2 separate regions of the Homo sapiens genome follow, and region 2 is linked to region 1. The links are contacts of gene promoters, found by promoter capture Hi-C in blood cells and fetal thymus (Javierre and others, 2016). All regions are on one chromosome and are shown on one strand. The core of a region is centred on a gene start or on the middle of the fragment in contact, and the rest is flanking DNA. Distances in the headings are between cores, read along the strand shown.

Evidence for each region. The method cuts DNA at HindIII sites, captures the fragments that hold promoters and counts their contacts. A CHiCAGO score of 5 or more calls a contact.
Region 2: a contact is called between the fragment with the promoter of LRRC75A here and the fragment with the promoter of CENPV in region 1, in 14 of 17 cell types (erythroblasts, neutrophils, total CD4 T cells and 11 more). The highest score is 23.5, in erythroblasts.

The regions. Positions count from the first base shown.
Region 1 is chr17:16,351,505-16,355,525 of GRCh38, forward strand. CENPV (centromere protein V) reads right to left here and starts at 1,965. Exons shown (of 5, transcript NM_181716.3): 1 at 1,523-1,965. The coding sequence starts at 1,932. RefSeq lists silencers at 1,355-1,964, 2,025-2,174. The HindIII fragment of the contact is 31,801 bases long and covers 1,562-4,021 here.
Region 2 is chr17:16,489,869-16,493,889 of GRCh38, forward strand. LRRC75A (leucine rich repeat containing 75A) reads right to left here and starts at 2,325. Exons shown (of 4, transcript NM_001113567.3): 1 at 1,877-2,325. The coding sequence starts at 2,122. All of the region lies in intron 2 of LOC124903936 (a long non-coding RNA gene), which reads left to right. RefSeq lists silencers at 1,928-1,987, 2,098-2,147, 2,238-2,577. The HindIII fragment of the contact is 6,898 bases long and covers 274-4,021 here.

The DNA of each region.
Region 1 (4,021 bases), core at 715-3,214:
AAAAACTCCAAACTTCACACTATTTGAGAGTGCTCAAAGTGAAAGCCTCCTGTAATCTTTACACCCAGAGGGATCTACAGTTAATTATTTGTTATATATTCCCCCAAACTTTTTTCTACACAATATTTTAACGAAAATGGTACAGTTATACACACTTTTTGAATATAATTTAGTAGACTTTATAAGTACAAAGTCATGGCAATCTAGTGGGAGAAAAACAGCTTTTTTATGTCAATATTTTAAAACTTTTTCTTGACCATTTATCAGTTTGTCTTAAAATAAAAATTTATCTCAAATTTGAGTTTTACATTCTTCTTTTTTTCTGTATGCCTTGAAGACACCATGAGTTTTACATTCCTAAGGATCTTCGTATTCCTTCTGCCCAGAGGCAGCCGTCACCCTATAGGTGCTCAAATGTTTGATGGATGAACGTTTTTTAAAAATTCAGTGTGCAGTCCAAGATGAAAAACCAAAAAGTGAAGCACACAGAAAACCAAATATGTATCTTCTGTCGGGGACGACTCATCCTAAGAGAATTTCTTCCGCAAGAAGCTCAAAGGAACATGTTCAAGAAAAGAAGTAATTCTCAGGTTATGCAATTGCTAGGTTATTCTTGTCGGTTTTTTCCCCCTAGTGTTTTGATTGTTCTTTTTAATTCGTAAAATTGACACTGAAATATAATATCAGGGCGTTAAAATATCTCTCTGTAGCACAACTGTTCCCCGAGGCAGGAATCCAGATCGCATTTGGAGAAAAGAAGGCAGCCCTTTAACAGCCCAGTTAAAAGCTCTTTCCCAAATCGCGGACACTCGAGATGCTCCTCGGGCCATCTAAAAGACTGCGGAGCAGCCAGGAGGGCGAGCGGCAGGGAGCATTAGCTGGCTGAGCACATAAAAGCCTCCCTACGTAGGTATCCCCGCCGCCGCGCGAGGCCGGAGCATCTCTTCGCGCGCGCTTCTCTCCCGGATCAATAACCTCCGCCCCCTGCTCCCTCCCTGGCAGTGCCTGGAACAATGACGGGATTTTGCTTCCCAGTGAGTTCAAAACTATTCATGCTTCCTTCAACGCTTCTACCTTTCCCTTCCACCCACCCTCAAAAACACGTGTGCAAACACAAAAAAAAAGGGGATTCGGGTAAGAGAAAGCCGTGGGATTTATGTTCTTTTCACTAAGAAAGGCCCCCACACCCTTTGCGCGCCAGCAAGAGACAACGTCCCCGAGCACGATGCTTATGGCCGGGAAAGACTCTTTGTGTCCCAAGACGGCTGCGCGCGCCCTCAAGCTCCGGACGAAGCCCCCTTTCCATTCCCAGGCCACACAGCCCTAGAAGCACCGCCCCGCCCCGCCGCCCTTAGAATTAAGGAATAACCCCAGTGCTAACGGGGGAGCCGCGTCGGCTCCGTAACGTGGAAGGCTCAGAGCTGAAAGGCGCCCAAGGCCTGCACGCGGGCTGCGAGCCCGACTCCTGCCGAGGGGGTCCGCGTGGCAACGGCTCCCGCGCCCCCCGGCCCGCCGCACTCACAAGGTGTCTAGCAGGAGCTTGGCGGCACCCTCGGAGGTAAGCTTCTGCCGCTTCTGGAACGTCTCCCAGCGCTCCCGCTGCTCGCCCAGGTCCAGGTTGGACGCCGAGGACGTCGGGGTCGCGGGAGTCGGCGGCGGCGGCGGCGGTGGCGGGAGCAACGCCAGCTCAGGCGGCGGCGGCTCCCCCGGGCCCTCCTCCTGGGCCCGCGGCGACGAGCGCCTCAGCCGCGGCTTCTCCGACGGCGGCTTCTCCACCGCCTGGCTCTTGCTCCCGGCCTGGCTAGCGGAGCGCCGTGTGCGGGTGGCGCTGGGTGCCAAGGCAGCGGCCGCGGAGGCCGCGGGGGCCGCGGAGGCCCCGGACCGCTTCTGCCCGCGCAGCTTGGCGGCCGCAGAGCTCCTCGATCGCCGCATGGCTCCCGCAGCCTGGCGCGCAGGCCTCGCAGCGCGGCGCGCCCCCGCCGGCCTGCGCGCGCCCCCGCCGCCCGCCAGTCTTCAGGCCCAGGGGGCGCTGCGCCCGGCTGCCCCGCTCCGCCAGCCGCGCCCCGCAGCGCGGCGCCTGCCCGCAGGAGGGAGACCCGGCCCGCCCGGCCGCTGGGACGCACCTGCCTGTTCAGTCCCGCAGGCAGAGGGGCTGCGCCTGGGCCTACGCTCGCGATACCCAGAATCCACTCGCACCTGCGAAGGCGCCCCTGCCCTGTGTGAATCCAGCGGGCTCTTCGTACCTTCCCGACCTGGAGGGGCCTGGGTTGGGCCTGAATTCGCAGGCTCATCCGAGCGGGCAGCCTGGGGTAACTTCGTCTCCAAAAACGAGCTAATTTGTGTAAACGGCCTGCCACCTGCTACCTCCTGTGTAACAGCGGCCGAAACCATAGTTCTTCACCTTCGTCTTTTCTGTCACATTATAGAACAGTGTCATGAGGATACCAATAGTCAACAGATTTGGGGTTTCATTTTAATTAAATGAATGACCCGCGCGTCGAATTTCATTAGTATGATTTTGATGAAGGCAGCACCAAAGTTTAAAGACAAAAGGCACGAGAATCGTTGATGGAACCCAGATAGTCTTCTTCTCCTTCTCCTTCTTCTTCTTTTTTCAGACCGAGTTTCGCTCTTGTTGCCCAGGCTGGAGTGCAGTGACGCGATCTCGCCTCACCGCAACCTCCGCCTCCCAGGTTCAAGCGATTCTCCTGCCTCAGCCTCCTGAGTAGCTGGGATTACAGGCATTCGCCACCACACCCGGCTAATTTTGTATTTTTAGTAGAGACGGGGTTTCACCATGTTGGTCAGGCTGGTGCCGAATACTCCCGACCTCAGGTGATCCATCCGCCTCGGCCTCCCAAAGCGCTGGGATTACAGGCCTGAGCCACCGGGCCCAGCCTATCTTTCTTTTTTTTTTTTTTTTTTTTTTCTTTTTTGGAGTCTCACTCTGTCGCCAGGCTGGAGTGCAGTGGCGCGATCTCGGTTCACGCAACCTCCGCCTCACCGTTCCAGCGATTCTCCTGCGTCAGCCTATCTTTCTTCTTTATTCTGATTTTCTTCATGGTATTGTTAGTTTAATAGTTTATTGAATTAAAGGCATAGTTTAACTATTTTGTCTTTTTTTTTTTTTTTCCATACAGGATCTGACAGACTGGAGTGCAGTAGCGGGATCTCGGCTCAGTGTAGCCAAGAACTCCTGGCCTCAAGCGATCCTGCCGCCTGGGCCTCTGGAGTAGCTGAGTAGCTGGAACAACAGGCGGCGCCCCCCCCCCCCCCCCCCCGCCCCAGCGAATTGTTGCTATTGTTGTTTTGTAGATACCGGGTTTCCCTATGTTGCCCAGGCTGGTCTCTAACTCCTGGCCTCAAGCGATCCTCCCGCCTAGTTCTCCCCAAGTGTTGGGATTACAGGCGTGAGCCACCGAGCCCCACCTTGCCATTTTGTCGTTGTTGTTGTTGGAATTATGGTTTACACACAGCAACGTGCAAATATCTTAGATGTACAGCTTATGTGACCACCACCACTTCAGATACAGAACATTTTCAGCACACCAGAGTTTCCCTCAGGCAAAAGAAAACAGAGGCGATCACTGTTCTTTTACCACCATAGGTTGGTTTTGCTTATTCTTGAACATCATTTTAAAACGGCACGTAGGCCGGGCGCAGTGGCTCATGCCTAATCCCAACACTATTGGGAGGCCGAGGTGCTCAGATCGCTTGAGCCCAGGAGTTTGAGACCAGGAGGTGGAAGCTGCGGTGAGCTGTGATTACACCACCATATTCTACTCTGGGTGACAGAGTGAGACCTTGTCTCAAAAAAAAAAAAAAAAAAAAAAAGCTGGGTGTGGGGAGTGGTTATCCTTGAGGAGAACTAACTGGGAAAGAGAACAAAGGACTCTTCTAAGATGCTGGATATGGCCAGGCACAGTGGCTCATGCCTGTAATCCCAGCACTTTGGGAGGCGGAGGTGGGCAGGAGTTTGAAACCAGCCTGGCCAACATGGGGAAACCCTGTCTCTACTAGA
Region 2 (4,021 bases), core at 1,075-3,574, 140 kb after region 1:
CCCCCCCATCAGCCCTCCCAGTCCTGCAGCTGAGGCGGGTACCAGGACACCAATAAGACCCATGTGCAGATGTCTGAGGAAATGCTTCTTGTTTCAAGGATCCCACAGTGGGGCTGCAGGGGCTTATCTACTCTCCCTCAAGGCAGGGAGAAGCTCAGTGTCCCCAGGATGTGGAATCACACTCAGCCCTACAGGGACTGGGGAGCCCAAAGTATCTGCCCACTTTGGGTCCAGTCTCCTCCCGTGGGCCTCCAAGCGGCCCTCCATCATGCAAGCTTCGCTCTGGTCTTGCACCCTCCAAGAAGTGCTTGCCAGCTCCCTCTGTTCTTCTGTATCCCCCAAAGCACCCATTGCAGGGTGGGGGAAACAGCATGTGATCAGGAAAACCTTACTGTATGGTGTGTAAATAGGATACCATGGTCTGGAAAACCCAATATTCTGTTTAAAAGTGAAAGAGTTACTATAAAGGCCATATGTCAGCTTCCAATTTTCAAAAGACAAAGAAATACACACTGCTAAAGTTCAGTGGTGCATAATGTCATCTTTCTTTGATGACTGAACTCAGAGAAGGCACATGGGGATCCAGCAGCGTCTCGGGCATCATTCTGGAAGTTGTTGGGGAAAACAGAGGCAGAAGCAGAAGTCCCACATCTTCCCAAGTCCCCTCGTCTCTGCTTGCCTCTCCCTGTGCAGTGCACAGCTTGGGGACACATACTTTAGGGTAAGAGCGCACCAGATACAAAGGTGGGGAAGAGTGCTGCAGAACCCAAGAGGGATGTGGGTCTGATTAGATTTTGGAAGCTCCTCCCAAGAAGGTGCTCCTACAGCCTCTTTCAGCAGCGACTGGAAAACCCCAGAAAGGTCACCTGAGATTTTCCCTCTGCCATCCACGGTAGACTCCACCTCTAATGGGGTCAGTCTAGCAAGAATATGGGGCCTGGATTGTCTACCCACCAAAGCCAGGCCAAGACAACCTGCTTGGTGATGCAGGAGAGCAGCTTTGCACTCCCCTGCCTGTCTTATACTCAACAAAATCCATGGCATGGGCCATGCTCCTCTCCCCACCAAAGAAACTGACAAAGGAAAACAAGCCACAGAGAGGTGAGTGATAGCATTAGCCTCAGGGCAGCCCCAAAGCAGAGGGAACTGGCCAATTCCGCAACATCTGTCCCTAGCCAGTGGGACAGGCACAGGCTAAGGACAGAGTCCTGGCAGTCTCCTGAAGTTGCTGCTGGCCAGGTGGTCACACAGGGCACCAAATCCAGCTCCCCTGTCTCTACCGCTTTCCGCAGGGGCTCATGGTTGAGGATCTGCTGAAGTTAGTCAGGGGAGAGGAAACAGTCTCCTCCTTGAACTACAATCCAGGATGCCTCCCAGGCGAGTGAAGGACCTAGGGACTGGAATCTCATTGGCCCCAGGGCTGTGCCCCTGGACTCGCTCTCGGGAAGCCAAGCCAGGTCCAACTGATAACCGCATTCCTTGAGGACCCTCGGCCGGGAGTGACTGCCAGTGGGCAGACAGGAAGAAAAGAGCCCTGGCCCAGATCAGGCAGGCATCCCTGCTTCCCCGCCCACCGACTGTCCCCGGAGACCAGCCTCCTTCTCTGCCTGCGGAGGAGAGCAGTGGGGACATTATGCCAACAGGTCCCCTTCGGCGGGCCTCACCCGGCCAGCCTTCCTCCGCCCTGCCCTGAGGCCCCACATTCAGCGGAAGCGCCGAGGCACCTGCTGCCAGACAGGGCTCCATCCCCGCGGAAGGGGCCCCTGGGCGGTGCCCCTCGGTGCCCCCGGCTTCCTCGGTTAGGGATGGGGCGCCCCCCCCGGCCCAGCACGCCCCCTGGCCCGGCGCGCCCCCCGCGCCCCCTCCCCGCGCTCACCTGGCGCAGGTGCTGCAGCAGCGTCCCCGCCTCCTCCCGCCGGCCCTGGCGCACCATCCGCAGCAGCTCCTGGACCATGCCGACTCGCCGGTGGTAGGGGGGCATCCCCGCGCCCGCGCGCCCCGCCTTGTCCCCGGCGCGCAGCAGCAGCGACGCCCAGAAGTCCGGCCGTTCGCGTCGGGGGCCCGGCGCGGCGCCGGGGCTGGCTCTCTCCGCCAGGCTGCCCTTGGTCTGCCGGGTGCCCATGCCGCCGCCGCCCGCCGGGACTCTCCGCTCTGGGCCGCGAGGCCGCGTCCCCGCCAACCGCCCGCCCCTCGGCCGCCCGTGCGCGCTCGCCTCCCGGGCTGCAACTTTGGGGGAACTGTTGCGCGCGGGCGTCGCGGGGGCGGGCGGGCGGGCGGCTGTCGGCGCTCCCCGCGCTCCTCCCTCTTGGCTACCCGGGCGCGCTCCCCGGGCGCTCGCCGCCGGCCCGCCCGCCGGCCCCGCCCCGGCCCGGCTCGGCCCGCCCCGCCCCCCGCCTCCGCGCCGGAGCTCCGCGGCGTCGCGCGCCTCCCTCTTCTCGGGCTCCCGCTCCTTCCCGCCCCGCGGCTCCGGGCTGGGGACCACCACCAGGCGCCCCCTGCCTGCGTCCTCTCGGCAGTCGCGCCTCCTGCGGGCGGCAGTGCTGCGCTTCCCGGGGCCGTGGCGCGGGGGCGAGGGGAACAGGCAGGCCCCATGGGCCGTCGCTCTCGGTCCCCACCGGGCTCCCCGACGCTTCCACCACCGCGCGCCCGGTGCGTCGGGCGAGATGGGGAAAGTTTGGAGCATGGGGGTGTGTGTGTTGGGGGGCTCTCTTAGGCCCAGAGTCGGGTTTCTCAAGGTGGGTTCCGCTGAGCCTCAGCGCCCAAATCGTCGGAGGCGCTGGTTAAAAACGCAGGCTCTAAGGCCTCCACCGAGACCTACTGAATGATAATCTCCTCGGTGGGGCCTGGGATCCGCCTTTTTAGCCAGCATGTTGGGTGATTCCCATGCACGCTCCTTTGAGACCTGGCCTGCTTGCAGGGCGCTGTAGTGGTGTGGTTGGTGCGTAAACCTGGAAACTGTGCGAGCTTATGGGTTGTGTGCGTGCCCTTCTATGGAGAGGGCCTGTTGCTTCCATCATGCTCTCAAAGCATCTGGACCGGAGAGGTGTGAACTCCTGTGTTCTCTTGTTCTCACTCTCACAGCCCTGGAGAAGGGTCCCTGGGGTAGTCCTGGTACAACAAAGCAAACGCACGTCTGCGAGTAGGCCCAGCGGTACACCCTGCTGGCCCACCTTCCTCCCCGTGCCTCTGCCAGGCCCAGTCTGTAAGGGACCAGAGCCCTGGGATCTCATGGTGTTGCCAGGGCTTGCCAGAGTGAAGGCGAAGGCAGGTGGGGGAGCTTCTCTGTTGCAGACCACAGGCCGCCCTGGTCCCAGCGCAGGGCAGAAGCAATTGTGCAAGCTCGCCTCTGACCCCAGCTCTGGGTGTTGCTTGAGGGTGTAAGGGCACGTGGGCTGTAGGGGCAGGAGGCTGGATCCCAAATCACAGGGAGCTGAGCCCCACTACTTAGTGAGCACTGAGTATCAGGCGAGTCTTCAGCTTCTTGAGTCCTGATTCTTCCTGTCAGGCTAGGATAATAACACTGCCAAGAATTGGGAGAGTAAACTCGGTGGACACTGCTAAAGGAAAAAATTATTTAATGACATGAGTTAAAGCATCGTAAGGAAGACTTTATTCAGGACCATTACCATAGGTGTAGGGACCTCTGCTATGAGATTTTGCAGTTGCAGGGAGAGAGAGATTGAGCTCAACTCCAATTACAGCATGGGCAAGTGGGAATTCGTTGCTAAGGAGCAGGGTGGGGGTCAGCGGATAGAAACTTAATAAGGGAAACATCAGGGCTGAGGGGGATTCTGGCTAAACAGGTTGTATGGAGCACCCTTGACATAAGTAACTCCATCTTAGAAAAAGGGTCCATTTTACATTTGAAAAAGCCTCATGCCAACAGGAACCAGATGTTCGCCTAATCAATAAAGACTACACCCCACCAGATAAAGACATAAACAGGCACACTCTTTGCTATCAGTCCTCACCAGAGGATTCTGTAGCCATAAAAAGAGCAGGACTTCAGCAACTGGAGATG